Regions from separate parts of the Homo sapiens genome. Here region 2 is linked to region 1. The links are contacts of gene promoters, found by promoter capture Hi-C in human tissues and cell types (Jung and others, 2019). All regions are on one chromosome and are shown on one strand. The core of a region is centred on a gene start or on the middle of the fragment in contact, and the rest is flanking DNA. Distances in the headings are between cores, read along the strand shown.

What was found. The method cuts DNA at HindIII sites, captures the fragments that hold promoters and counts their contacts. A contact is called where the count stands out against the background at its distance.
Region 2: the fragment with the promoter of ABHD3 here is called in contact with a fragment that was not itself captured in region 1 in 5 of the 25 tissues and cell types used here (bladder, dorsolateral prefrontal cortex, heart right ventricle and 2 more).

What each region holds. Positions count from the first base shown.
Region 1 is chr18:20,933,182-20,940,781 of GRCh38, reverse strand. No RefSeq gene overlaps it. Among named protein-coding and RNA genes, the nearest start is that of ROCK1, 170 kb to the left of the region's middle. RefSeq lists enhancers at 2,811-3,416, 3,417-4,024, 4,025-4,632, 4,633-5,240, 5,241-5,846 and 7 more. The HindIII fragment of the contact is 3,583 bases long and covers 2,636-6,218 here.
Region 2 is chr18:21,699,773-21,707,372 of GRCh38, reverse strand. It overlaps ABHD3 (abhydrolase domain containing 3, phospholipase), which reads left to right and starts at 2,599. Exons shown (of 9, transcript NM_138340.5): 1 at 2,599-2,869; 2 at 3,626-3,789; 3 at 4,875-5,057. The coding sequence starts at 2,708. It also overlaps a transcript of MIB1 not described here. RefSeq lists silencers at 1-118, 2,432-3,201 and enhancers at 2,192-2,261, 3,722-3,871. The HindIII fragment of the contact is 17,143 bases long and covers 1-7,600 here.

The sequences.
Region 1 (7,600 bases), core at 3,178-5,677:
ACCACAAGCACATGCCACCATGCCCAGCTAATTTTTTGTATTTTTGGTAGAGATGGGGTCTTGCCATGTTGCCCAGGCTGGTCTTGAACTACTGAGCTCAAGCAATCTGCCCATCTTGGCCTCCAAAAGTGCTGGGGTTGCAAGAAAATAGTTGCTAATTTAAAAACTGGAATACTTCAAATACAAATCTGATTTCCAATAACTGTTTCTCAACAAAGGGCCAGAGGCCTGCACATCAGCAATATCCTCTCACTGTTTTCTGAGAGAGGATATGTTTTCTATTTCACACAGTCCTTACCTGGACCACTTATTTGTGTTATCTGTCTGATGTTTAAGATCACCTGAATTTTCAGTGCTGCCAAAAAAGGTAACAATTGGCATATGATACATACAAATATAAAACATTCCCTTTCATAGAGCAGGTTTGAAACACTCTTTCTGTAGTATCTGGAAGTGGACATTTCGAGCGCTTTCAGGCCTATGGTGGAAAAGGAAATATCTTCCCATAAAAACTACACAGAAGCATTCGCAGAAACTTGTTTCTGATGTGTGTCCTCAACTAACGGAGTTGAACATTTCGTTTGACAGAGCAGTTTGGAAACACGCTTTCTGTAGAATCTGCAAGTGGATATTTGGATAGCTTTGTGGATTTCATTGGAAACGGGAGTATCTTCATATAAAATCTAGACAGAAACATTCTCAGAAACTGCTTTGTGATGTCTGCATTCAAGTCACAGAGTTGAACATTCCCTTTCATCGAGCAGGTTTGAAACACTCTTTTTGTAGTATCTGAATGTGGACATTTGGAGCGCTTTGATGCCTACAGTGAAAAAGGAAATATCTTCCCACAAAAACTAGACAGAAGCATTCTCAGAAACTTGTTTGTGATGTGTGTCCTCAACTAACAGAGTTGAACCATTCTTTTTACAGAGCAGTTTTGAAACACTCTTTTTGTAGAATCTACAGGTGGATATTGGGATAGCTTTAAGGATTTCATTGGAAACGGGAAAATCTTCATATAAAATCTAGACAGAAGCATTCTCAGAAACTTCTTTGTAATGTGTGTCCTCAACTAACAAAGTTCAACCTTTCTTTTGATACAGCAGTTTGGAAACACTCTTTTTGTAGAATCTGCAAGTGGATATTTGGATAGCTCTAACGATTTCATTGGAAATGAGAATATCTTCATATAAAATCTAGACAGAAGCACTCTCAGAAACTACTTTGTGATATCGGCATTCAAGTCACAGAGTTGAACATTCCCTTTCATGGAGCAGGTTTGAAACATTCTTTTTGTAGTATCTGGAAGTGGACATTTGGAGCGCTTTGACGACTTTGGTGAAAAAGGAAATATCTTCCCATAAAAACGAGACAGAAGCATTCTCAGAAACTTGTTTGTGATGTGTGTACTCAACTAACAGAGTTGAACCTTTCTTTTTACAGAGCAGTTTTGAAACACTCTTTTTGTAGAATCTGCAAGTGGATATTTGCATGGCTTTAAGGATGGCATTGGAAACGGGAATATCTTCATGTAAAATCTACACAGAAGCATTCTTAGAAACTTATTTGTGATGTGTGTCCTCAACTAACAGAGTTGAAACTTTCTATTGATAGAGGAGTTTTGAAACACTCTTTTTGTGGAATCTGCAAGTGGATATTTGGATTGCTTTGAGGATTTCGTTGAAAGCGCGCATTCATATAAAAAGTGGACAGCAGCATTCTCAGAAATTTCGTTCTGATGTTTGCATTCAACTCATAGAGTTGAACATTCCCTTTCATAGAGAAGGTTTGAAACACTCTTTTTGTAGTATGTGGAAGTGGACATTTCGAGCGCTTTGACGCCTATGGTGAAAAAGGAAATATCTTCCCATAAAAAATAGACAGAAGCATTCTCAGAAACTTGTCTGTGATGTGTGTACTCAGCTAACAGAGTTGAAGCTTTCTTTTCACAGAGCAGTTTTGAAACACTCTTTTTGTAGAATCTGCAAGTGGATATTTGGATAGATTTTAGGATTTCGTTGGAAACGGGAGTATCTTCGTATATAATCTCGACAGAAGCATTCTCAGAAACTGCTTTGTGATGTCTGCCTTCAAGTCACAGAATTGAACATTCTCTTTCATAGAGCAGGTTTGAAACACTCTTTTTGTAGTATCTGGAAGTGGACGTTTGAAGCACTTTGAGGCCCATGGTGAAAAAGGAAATATCTTCCCATAAAAACTAGACAGAAGCATTCTCAGAAACTTCTTTGTGATGTTTGTACTCAACTAACAGAATTGAACCTTTCTTTTGACAGAGCAGTTTTGAAACACTCTTTTTGCGGAATCTGCAAGTGGATATTTGGATAGCTTAGAGGATTTCGTTGGAAACGGGAATATATACATATAAAATCTAGACAGAAGCATTCTCAGAAACTTCTTTGTGATCTTTTCATTCAACTCGTAGAGTTGAACATTCCCTTTCATAGAGCCGGTTTGAAACACTCTTCTTGTACTACCGGGAAGTGGACATTTGGAGCGCTCTGATGCCTATGCTGAAAAAGGAAATATCTTCCTATAAAAACTACACAGAAGGATTCTCAGAAACATGTTTGTGATGTGTGTACTCAGCTAACAGAGTGGAACCTTTCTTTTTACAGAGCAGCTTTGATACACTATTTTTGTAGAATCTGCAAGTTGATATTTGGATATTCCCGTTTCCAATGAAATCCTTAAAGCTATCCCAATATCCACCTGCAGATTCTACAAAAAGAGTGTTTCAAAACTGCTCTGTAAAAAGAATTGTTCAACTCTGTTAGTTGAGGACATACATCACAAACAAGTTTCTGAGAATGCTTCTGTCTACTTTTTATGGGAAGATATTTCCTTTTTCACTGTAGGCGTCAAAGCGCTCAAAATGTCCACATCCAGATACTACAAAAAGAGTGTTTCAAACCGGCTAGATGAAAGGGAATGTTCAACTCTGTGACTTGAATGCAGACATCAAAAAGCAGTTTCTGAGAATGCTTCTGTCTAGATTTTATATGAAGATATTCCCGTTTCCAACGAAATCTTCGAAGTTATCCAAATATCCACTTGCAAATTCTACAAAAAGAGTGTTTCCAAACTGCTGTATCAAAAGAAAGGTACAGCTCTGTTAGTTGAGGACACACATCACAAATAAGTTTCTGAGAATGCTTCTGTCTACTTTTTATGGAAAGATATTTCCTTTTTCAACATAGGCCAGAAAGCGCTCAAAATGTCCACTTCCAGATACTACAGAAAGAGTGTTTCAAACCTGCTTTATGAAAGGGAATGTTCAAACCTGTGACTTAAAAGCAAACATCACAAAGAAGCTTCTGAGAATGTTGCTGTCTACTTTTTATATATAATCCCGTTTCCAACGAAATCCTCAAAGCCATCCAAATATCCACTTGCAGATTCCACAAAAAGAGCGTTTCAAAACTGATCTATAAATAGAAAGGTTCAACTCTGTTAGTTGAGTACATATATCCCAAAGAAGTTTCTTAGAATGCTTCTGTCTAGTTTTTATGGGAAGACATTTCCTTTTTCACCAAAGGCGTCAAAGCGCTCCAAATGTCCACTTCCAGATACTACAAAAAGAGTGTTTCAAACCTGCTCTAAGAAAGGGAACGTTCAACTCTGAGACTTGAATGCAGATATCACAAAGTCGTTTCCGAGAGTGCTTCTGTCTAGATTTTATATGAAGATATTCCTGTTTCCAACGATATCTTTAAAGCAATCAAAATATCAAATTGCAGATTCTACAAAAATAGTGTATCAAAGCTGCTCTGTAAAAAGAAAGGTTCCACTCTCTTAGCTGAGTACATACATCACAAACATGTTTCTGAGAATCCTTCTGTCTAGTTTTTATGGGAAGATATTTCCATTTTCACCATAGGCGTCAGAGCGCTCCAAATGTCCACTTCCCGATACTACAAGAAGAGTGTTTCAAACTGGCTCTATGAAAGGGAATGTTCAACTCTACGAGTTGAATGAAAAGATCACAAAGAAGTTTCTGAGAATGCTTCTGTCTAGATTTCATATGAATATATTCCCATTTCCCAGGAAATCCTCTAAGCTATCCAAATATCCACTTGCAGATCCTACAAAAAGAGTGTTTCAAAACTGCTCTGTCAAAAGAAAGGTTCAACTCTGTTAGTTGAGGACACACATCACAAAGAAGTTTCTGAGAATGCTTCTGTGTAGGTTTTACATGAAGATATTGCCATTTCCAACGAAATCCTTAAAGCCATTCAAATATGCACTTGCAGATTCTACAAAAAGAGTGTTTCAAAACGGCTCTGTAAAAAGAAAGGTTCAACTCTGTTAGTTGAGTACACAAATCACAAACAAGTTTCTGAGAATGCTTCTGTCTCGTTTTTATGGGAAGATATTTCCTTTTTCACCAAAATCATTAAAGGGCTCCAAAGGTCCACTTCCAGATACTACAAAAAGAGTGTTTCAAACCTGCTCCATGAAAGGGAATGTTCAACTCTGTGACTTGAATGCCGATATCACAAAGTAGTTTCTGAGAGTGCTTCTGTCTAGATTTTTTATGAAGATATTCCCGTTTCCAACGAAATCGTTAGAGCTATCCAAATATCCACTTGCAGATTCTACAAAAAGAGTGTTTCCAAACTGCTGTATCAAAAGACAGGATGTACTCCGTTGGTTGAGGACACACATCACAAAGAAGTTTCTGAGAATGCCTCTGTCTAGATTTTATATGAAGATATTCCCGTTTCCAATGAAATCCTTAAAGCTCTCCAAATATCCACTTGCAGATTCTCCAAAAAGAGTCTTTCAAAAGTGCTCTGTAAATAGAAAGTTTCAACTCTGTTAGTTGAGGACAAACATCACAATCCAGTTTGTGAGAATGCTTCTGTCTAGTTTTTATGGGAAGATATTTCCTTTTGCACCGTAAGCGTCAAAGCGCTCCAAGTGTCCACATCCAGATACTACGGAAAGAGGGTTTCAAACCTGCTCTATGAAAGGGAATGATCAACTCTGTGACGTGAATGCAGACATCATAAAGCAGTTTCTGAGAATGTTTCTGTCTAGGTTTTCTATGTTGATACTCCCGTTTCCAACGAAATAGTGAGAGCTATCCAACTATCCACTTACATATTCTACAAAAAGAGTGTTTCCAAACTGCTGTATCATAAGAAAGGATGAACTCTGTTAGTTGAGGACACACATCACAAAGAAATTTCTGAGAATGCTTCTGTCTAGTTTTTATGGGAAGATATTTCCGTTTTCAACATAGGCCTGAAATCGCTCGAAATGTCCATGTCCACATACTACAGAAATAGTGTTTCAAACCTGCTCTATGAAAGGGAATGATCAACTCTGTGACGTGAATGCAGACATCATAAAGCAGTTTCTGAGAATTTTTCTGTCTAGGTTTTCTATGTTGATACTCCCGTTTCCAATGAAATAATGAGAGCTATCCAACTATCCACTTACATATTCTACAAAAAGAGTGTTTCAAAACTGCTGTATCATAAGAAAGGATGAACTCTGTTAGTTGAGGACACACATCACAAAGAAATTTCTGAGAATGCTTCTGTCTAGTATTTATGGGAAGATATTTCCGTTTTCAACATAGGCCTGAAATCGCTCGAAATGTCCATGTCCAGATACTACAGAAATAGTGTTTCAAACCTGCTCTATGTAAGGGAATATTCAACTCTGTGACTTAAAAGCAAACATCACAAAGAAGGTTCTGAGAATGCTGCTGTCTACTTTTTATATGTAATCCCGTTTCCAAGGAAATCCTCAGAGCTATCCTAATATCCACTTGCAGATTCCACAACAAGAGCTTCTCAAAACTGACCTATAAATAGAAAGGTTCAACTCTGTTAGTTGAGTACATATATCCCAAAGAAGTTTCTTAGAATGCTTCTGTCTAGTTTTTATGGGAAAACATTTCCTTTTTCACCAAAGGCGTCAAAGCGCTAAAAATGTCCACTTCCAGATACTACAAAGTGTCTCAAACCTGCTCTAAGAAAGGGAATGTTCAACTCTGTGACTTGAGTGCAGATATCACAAAGCAGTTTCTGAGAGTGCCTCTGTCTAGATTTTATATGAAGGTATTCCCATTTCCTATGAAATCGTTAGAGCTATCCAAATATCCACTTGCATATTCTACAAAAGGAGTGTTTCGAAACTGCTGTATCAAAAGAAAGGTTGAACTCTGTTAGTTAAGGACACACATCACAAAGAAGTTTCTGAGAATGCTTCTGTGTAGATTTTACATGAATATAGTCCCGTTTCCAAGGAAATCCTTAAAGCCATCCAATTATCCACTTGCAGATTTTACAAAAAGAGTGTTTCAAAACTGCTGTGTAAAAAGAAACGTTCAACTCTGTCAGTTGAGTACACACATCACAAACAAGTTTCTGAGAATGCTTCTGTCTAGTTTTTATGGGAAGATATTTCCTTTTTCTCCAAAGTCGGCAAAGCGCTCCAAAGATCCATTTCCAGATACAACAAAAAGAGTGTTTCAAACCAGCTCTATGAAAGGGAATGTTCAACTCTGTGACTTGAATGCAGATATCACAAAGTACCTCCTGAGAGTGCTTCTGTCTAGATTTTATATGAAGATATTCCCGTTTCCAAGGAAATCGTCAGAGCTATCCAAATATCCACTTGCAGATTCTGCAAAAAGAGTGTTTCCAAACTGCTGTATCCAAAGACAGGTTGTACTCTGTTAGGTGGGGACACATATCACAAAGAAGTTTCTGAGAATGACTTTTCCGTTTCCAATGAAATCTACTTAAAGGTATCCAAATATCCGCTTGCAGATTCTACAAAAAGAGTCTTTCAAAACTGCCCTGTAAATAGAAAGGTTCAACTCTGTTAGTGGAGGACATACATCACAAAGCAGTTTGTGAGAAGGCTTCTGTCTAGTTTTTAAGGGAAGATATTTCCTATGTCACCGTACGCGTCAAAGCGCTCAAATGTCCACATCCAGATACTACAGAAACGGTGTTACAAACGTGCTCGATGAAAGAGAATGTTCAATTCTGTGACTTGAATGCAGACATCACAAAGCAGTTTCTGAGAGTGCCTCTGTCTAGATTGTATATGAAGATATTCCCGTTTCCAACGAAATCTTCAAAGTTATCGAAATATCCGCTTGCAGATACTACAAAAAGAGTGTTTCTAAACTGTTGTATCAAAAGAAACGTTCAACTCTGTTAGTTGAGGACACCCATCACAAATAAGTTTCTGAGAATGCTTCTGTCTACTTTTTATGGGAAGTTATTTCCTTTTTCAACATAGGCCTGACATCGCTCGAAATGTCCACTTAGAGATACTACAGAAAGAGTGTTTCAAAACTGCTCTATGGAAGGGAATGTTCAACTCTGTGACTTAAAAGCAAACATCACAAGGAGCTTCTGAGAATGCTGCTGTCTATATTTTATATGTAATCCCGATTCCAACGAAATCCTCAGAGCTATCCAAATATCCACTTGCAGATTCCACAAAAAGAGCATTTCAAACTGATCTATAAAGAGAAAGGTTCAACTCGGTTAGTTGAGTGCATATATCACAAAGAAGTTTCTTAGAATGCTTCTGTCTAGTTTTTATGGGA
Region 2 (7,600 bases), core at 1,350-3,849, 770 kb before region 1:
TGGCCCATTTTACAGAGAGCTGCCTGGTCTGTTTTACAGAGAGCTGACTGGTCCGTTTTGACAGGGTGGTGATTGGTACATTTACAATCGCTGAGCTAGACACAAAATTTCTCCAAGTCCCCACAGAGCACTGATTGGTGCATTTACAAACCTTGAGCTAGACACAGGGTGCTGATTAGTGTGTTTACAAACCTTGAGCTAGACACAGAGTGCTGACTGGTGTATTTACAATCCCTTAGCTAGACATAAAGATTCTCCAAGTCCCCACCAGATTAGCTAGATACAGAGTGCTGATTGGTGCATTTACAAACCTTGAGCTAGACACTGAGTGCTGATTGGTGTATTTACAATCCCTTAGCTAGACATAAAGGTTCTCCAAGTCCCCACTAGACTCAGGAGCCCAGCTGGCTTCACCTAGTGGATCCCACAGGGGAGCCGCAGCTGCCCACCAGTACTGCCCCGTCAGCCCCACACTCCTCAGCCCTTGGGCGGTGGATGGAACCCGGCTTGGCAGAGCAGGGGGCAGCGCTCGTGGGGGAGGCTTGCCCCGCAGGAGCCCACAGTGGGGCGGGGGGTGCGGCTCAGGCATGGCGGGCTGCAGGTCCTGAGCCCTGCCCCGTGGGGAGGCAGCTGAGGCCCAGCAAGAATTCCAGTGCAGCGCTGGCGGGCTGGCACTGCTGGTGGACCCGGGGCACCCTCCACAGCTGCTGGTCTGGGTGCTAAGCCCCTCACTGGCCAGGGCCGGCGGTGCCAGCCGGCGCTCAGAGTGCAGGGCCCGCCGAGCCCACACCCACCCGGAACTCCCGCTGGCCCGTGATCGCGGGGCACAGCAGCCCCGGTTCCCGCCCACGCCTCTCTCTCCACACCTCCCTGCAAGCAGAGGGAGCTGGCTCCGGCCTCAGCCAGCCCAGAGAGGGGCTCCCACAGTGCAGCAGCGGGCTGAAGGGCTCCTCAAACGCGGCCAGAGTGGATGCCCTGGCCTGAGGAGGTGCTGAGAGCGAGCGAGGGCTGCTAGCACGTTGTCACCTCTCACCAGCACTTTGGGAGGCCGAGGCGAGTGGATCAGGAGTTCCAGACCAGCCTGGTCAACATGGTGAAACCCTGTCTCTACTGAAAATACAAGATTAGCTGGGTGTGGTTGTGCATGCCTGTAATCCCAGGTACTCGGGAGGCTGAGGCAGGAGAATCACGTGAACCCGGGAGGTGGAGGTTGCAGTGACCCGAGATCTCGCCATTGCACTCCAGCCTGGGCAACAAGAGCAAAACTCTGTCTCAAAAAACAAAACAAAACAAAACAGAACAAACTTAAACTGAAATACGCATGCATTTATTGGTAGGTAGTGCAGAAGGCTGGTGCAGGGGTTATGAAGAATGCTATGAAGTTTCAAGTATGGCAACCAGCATATGCATTCACGTTTGCTATGTGTGCTCAGGTGTGAGAGCCAGAGCGTGAAAATTACTTCTGCTCACGGGGAGTCCAGTATATACACTATCTTGTCCTCTCGGGAACTCTATAAAGTAGAAATTGTTACGCTACAGATTATTAAAACAAGAAAAAAACAGGCTCAGTAAAGGTAATTGAATTATTTTGGGTGCTGCAGCCAACCACCAAGTTGCAATGACCAAATCGGAGCCAAATAAATTGCTCACTTCTGGTCCGTCTCATGTCCCCATCTAAATTACATCATTAATTTACAATCCTTTGGCATTTTTCATAATCTAGACAGCACTTTCCCTTCTTTCGTCTGTTTAAGTCTTGCCATTCTTCCTACCTCTCTGAGGAAGGAGTTCATAAGAGTAGGAATAGGCTATTAAATTCTAACCATTTCAGATAACCATAAGTATCCTGATTTATCATATTGCCATAAATAAGCCTAGGAGACCCTACTTCATAAATGGTTTCTTGTCTGTACATTAGGTAATCGGTGTGAATTTCCATAAGTCTCTAAATTCAAAGCATTAATGAACCACAAATAGGCTTTTAACAATTGAATCCCGGTTGCTATTCTTGACCTTTTCATTTATTTTCAGAGACCACTTCTCATTTAAGTGACACTTAGCAACTAAAAAGATTCACAGAGTGATTCAGAGTCGAGTATGATGTCCTCACTGTTGAATGCTCATAGAATATTTTTTCTCTTTCCATAGTCTTGAGGACCAACGCAAACGTCTAGAGGATGTGGGATTCTTACCTGCTAACATATCTTTGGCATTAACTCCCCAAATCTTTGAATGCAAGGCACGCTTACCTGACACCCTAAACTGCTAGTTTAGGGACACCCGCCGCAGAGCGGAATCGTTCAAGGTCACTGGGGCTGCAGGTGCGGGGCCTTAACCAGCGCTGCCGATCCGTCAGCTCTCGGCCCACCCTTGGGGATCCCCATCGCCCACTGCGACCTAGCTGGGAGAACCCAGTCCGCCCGCCCTCCCGGTGGCCGGTCTTGGAACCGCGCTTCTGGAAGGTTCCTGAGTGGCTGGCAGTGGGGGCGGCTCCAGGAAGCCGGGGCGGAGCGGGCGGCGTTGGAGTCTCGGGCTACGCCTCCCTGGGCCGCTCCGCCCCGCCCGTTGTCGGAAGCCGCGCTCCGCCAGGCAGGAGACACTGTGGTCGGGAGTAGGCAGCGGCGCCGCGTCCGCTCTCGCCCGCTCTCGCCCGCTCGCCAGCCGGCTCTCCTCCCGCCGCAGGACCCGCGCGCCGCGCTCGGGGGCCATGCAGCGCCTGGCCATGGACCTGCGGATGTTGTCCCGGGAGCTCTCCCTCTACCTGGAACACCAAGTCCGGGTGGGGTTCTTCGGCTCGGGGGTGGGCTTATCCCTTATCCTGGGCTTCAGCGTCGCTTATGCCTTCTACTACCTGAGCAGCATTGCCAAGGTGAGCCGGGGGTGGCGCAGGGCCGCGGGCTGCTGGGCCAGGAGCTAGGGTAGCAGGCGCGGCGCGAGGCTGCGCGGCCAGGGGCGGTCGGCAGCCCCGGGGATAGGCGGCGAGCTGCTCCCGAGCGGCAGCCCCCAGCGCGCGCGGGAAAGCCAACAGGCCCCGCCCGTTCGCCCGCCCCCTGGGGGTCCCGGCCGGGTGGTCCTCGGAGCGCAGCCTGAACCCGGCTGACTTCTGCGCTGCGGCGCTGCCCGGTCACCGATCGCGAAGCCGGCGGCGCACTCGGGAACGCCGTGGCGCTTTTGAAAATGACTCCGGGCAGGGCACGGTGGCTCACGCCTGTAATCTCAGCACTTTGGGAGCCCGAGGCGGGTGGATCACCTGAGGTCAAGAGTTCGAGACCAGCCTGACCAAAATGGTGAAACCCCGTTACAATTACAAAAAATTAGCCGGGCGTGGTGGCGGACGCCTGCAATCCCAGCTACTCGGGAGGCTGAGGCAGGAGAATCCCCTGAACCCGGGAGGCGGAGTTAAAAACAAACAAACTCCCTTATCGCGATTCTCGCCTTCCCCTCGGGGCATTGGCGAAACCCCCGTTTCAGTCCTCTGTGACTGTGAATTTTTTGCGTCAGCCCTCCAGAAAGAGTTGTAATCGGAGGAAGCGCGCGCGCGAGCGACAAGTCTTTGCCGGTTTCTGGTTTACGGTTGGCAGAAACTTTGCTCTGGGCCCTTCTCTGATACTGCTTTTCCCTTCAGAAACCCCAGTTAGTGACCGGGGGTGAGAGTTTCAGCCGCTTCCTTCAAGACCACTGTCCCGTGGTTACAGAAACGTACTACCCGACGGTCTGGTGCTGGGAGGGTCGAGGACAGACCCTGCTTAGACCTTTCATCACTTCGAAGCCCCCGGTGCAGTACAGGAAGTAAGTGAATTTCCGTTTTCAGTCATTTCTGCAAAATCACAGGTTGTTTGTTTGCTTGCTTGCTTATTCCCAGTTCTTGGTTAATAGAATCTGCTTTAGGAAGTATATAGAACAGAAAGAGGGAATGAAAATGGAAGGTACGTCCCCGGCTCCACCCCCAGCTGCAGGAAAATACCCCAGCTGCAGGTATTTGCCTCCTGGTCCCCGCCCTAACCGCCAACCTGATGTAAATGGTTTATTTTTAGGATGAGAGAAGTGTTTGGGGATTACTGTCTCGCAGTTTGTCATACATCTGTCAGAAAGACCCAGATCTTTTGATGATCTGCATTCATTCATTGATAAGTAGCAGATACTGGGGGGGGGGGTGGGGTGAGAAGGATGCCACTTAATTTGGGTTTTGGGCGATTTATTGGTGTAAAATGACTTCCTATTGACAGGCAAATGGGATCTTGATGATAATAGCTCTTGATGTGTTAAAGATACGGTCCAGGATTTATCAGGAACCAGATTTAAATGGTGCCTGTTATTAATTTCCCTTAGTCATCTATCCTTCTGGAGTTTATTTTGTTGCCTGGAACTTGCACTGTTTGTTTGGGAAAATTCTGTAAGTTCATGAATACTATGTGAGAAATAATTTAAATTATTTCAGAAGAAAATCTTGAAGTATACTATACAAGGAGACTGCATTATTGAGTCCAAAGAGCTAGAGCAGTGGTCAGAGATTAGATCAGCATTTTACTTACTCAGACTTCCCTGTCGCATTAGTTGAGTGACCTCAATCAAACAAGGGTTAAATGCTGGATGTTTTGGAGTAATGAGTAAGTATTCATTTATCTTAATAATTAGCAGTTCATTTTTATATACGACCTTGTACGGAGGTTGCTGGAAATACTTGATGGTACTAATCTTCATAAAATCCTTCTAATGAAAGAAAATGATATGTAGATCGAGATATGGGTGTGTGTTCGTGAATGCTGGAAAAATGTTATTTTTTGATGAGCAAATAATGTCATGTGTTTAGAATTAAAATTAAGACATGACTTAAAACATGTAAATAGTAATGTCTTCTGAATTATTCCTTTCAGTGAACTTATTAAAACTGCAGATGGAGGACAGATTTCACTGGACTGGTTTGATAATGATAACAGTACGTGTTATATGGATGCCAGCACCAGACCTACTATCTTATTGTTGCCTGGCCTCACGGGAACAAGCAAGGAGTCATATATCCTTCATATGATCCATCTTAGTGAAGAATTAGGATACAGGTACCAGTAAAAGATTTCTTTTTTTTCACTTGATCCATTCCAAATGAAGTACAAATATATCTACATGTTTGTTTCAGAAATACTTAGTACTTCTTGCATAGAAAAGCAGTCCCTTAAATTATTATTTTTCTCTGCATTCTTTTTTTCCTCTTTCTTTTCAGGAAGATGCATAACTGAATCATCTCACAAGAAATGTCACTTAGCATAGTAGACACTCTGCAGATTTAGGCTGAGTTAATGAATGAAATTAGAATCATCTGAGCATTGACTGAGCCCTTCCCCCCATCCCCACCCCAATGGAGAGTGTGTTATGGAGGGAGAACAGCAATTACAGACCCCTGAGAGAGTACACAGTGGCCGTCATGCCACATTCTGGGGCCTGGATTCACTAATCTTGTCGCCCTGGCTCAGCTCCCAAGTGCAAAAAATATTCAGAATCAGCTTGTAGGTTGTCCCTATTTATCAAAGGTGATCTCTGCCTCTTCTGACCACCTGAGTTTGCAGGTGCACTTGGCTAGTCTCCAGTTGTTGATGCCACAGCTTTTCTGAGTAACCATTATTAAGCTCAGTCACCAGGTACAATTTAATTTTTTGCAAGTGATTAGCAACTTTGAGTTTCAAGTTCAGCTCTAGAATCTTAGAGTCATTATAAAAGGTACTGCTTTTTTGTGCCTCAGCTTTTTTTTTTAGCTGATAATTATTGTAATGGAACACTCTGTGAGTTGTATTTAAAGTAGAGTTGTATCTTTTGTTAAACTTGAAACACTTGTGTGAAAAGCTGATGGTAAGTTTACCTTAAAAAAATAATTTTAGGCTGGTCACAGTGGCTCATGCCTGTAATCCCAGCACTTTGGAAGGCGTAAAGCCGGTGGATTGCTTGAGCCCAGGAGTTCGAGACCAGCCTGGGCAACATGGTGAGACCTAGTCTACAAAAATTAGCAGGGCATGGTGGCATGCACCTATAGTTCCAGCTACTGACAAGGCTGAGGTAGGACGATCAGTTGAGCCCGGGAGGTAGAGACTGTAGTGAACCATGATCGTGCCACTGGACTCCAGCCTGGATGACAGAGTGACACCTTGGGCAAAAAGAAAAAAAAAAAAAAGGAAAGAAGAACATTTTGATGTTTGATGTAAAGGGGAAAATTCCATGATAGCTAACTTAATTTTAACAAGTTAATTCTGATCTTTTATAAATAATAGCCTATTTTGTCCATGAAGTAACATTCTCTCAAGAACTATGATGTTCAAGAATTATATTCAAGAAATTTGCTTAGCAGTAGCAGGAATTCATCATTATTCCATGTTTAAGCACCATACAGTTAGATGTGAGGCTTGGTTCCTTTTTTTTTTTTTTTTTTTTTTTGAGGCCAAATCTGGCTCTGTTGCCCAGCATGGAGCGCAGTGGCATGATCATGGTTCACTGCAGTCTCTTACAGGCGTGAGTTAATGCTCCCAGCCTGGTTCCATTTTTTTTTTTTTTTTTTTTTTGGCTAAAACTTAGTCATGCTCAGAAAGTACAGAAGATCATAATGCCTTTTGTACATATTTAAATTACTGCTTCTAGATTTGGCCTGAGCTGTCTCTCAAGACTTAGAACTGCTTTTAAAAACAACGTGGGCCAGGTGCAGTGGCTGACGCCTGTAATAACAGCACTTTGGGAGGCCGAGGCAGGTGGATCACTTGAGGTCAGGAGTTCAAGACCAACTTGGCCAACATGGTGAAACCTCGTCTCTACTAAAAAATACAAAAATTAGCCAGGTGTGATGGTGGGCACCTGTAATCCCAGCTACTCAGGAGGCTGAGGCAGGAGAATTGCTTGAACCTGGGAGGCAGAGGGTGCAGTGAGCCAAGATTGTGCCATTGCACTCCAGCCTGGGCAATAAGAGCAAAACTCCGTCTCAAAAAAAATAAAAACAAAAAAATTTGGGCCAGGTACAGTGGCTCACGCCTGTAATCCCAGCACTTTGGGAGGTCAAGGCGGACAGATCACAAGGTCAGGAGTTCGAGACCAGCCTGACCAACATGGTGAAACCCTGTTTCTACTAAAAATACAAAAAAATTAGACAGGTGTGGTGGCACATGCTTGTAATCCCAGTTATTCGGGAGGCTGAGGCAGGAGAATTGCTTGAACCTGGGAGGCAGAGGTTGCAGTGAGCCAAGATGGCACCACTGCACTCCAGCCTGGGCGACAGAGCGAGACTCTGTCTCAAAAAAATAAATAAATAAAAATAAATAAATAAAAACAATGTGGTTGAAACTCAAGGACTGAGTCTTATAAGCTCTGGAGTTGCCAGTGCACATACCTTTTGTCCATTGCTTATAAAGGTTGCCAGATTTTAGCCGGGTGCAGTGGCTCACAGCTGTAATCCCAGCACTCATCCACAGGCTGAGGCATGCGGATCACAAGGTCAGGAGTTCGAGACTAGCCTGGCCAACATAGCGAAACCCCATCTGTACTAAAAATACAAAAATTAGCCAGGCATGGCAGCGCGTGCCTATAATCCCAGTTACTCGGGAGGCTGAGGGAGAATCGCTTAAACCCG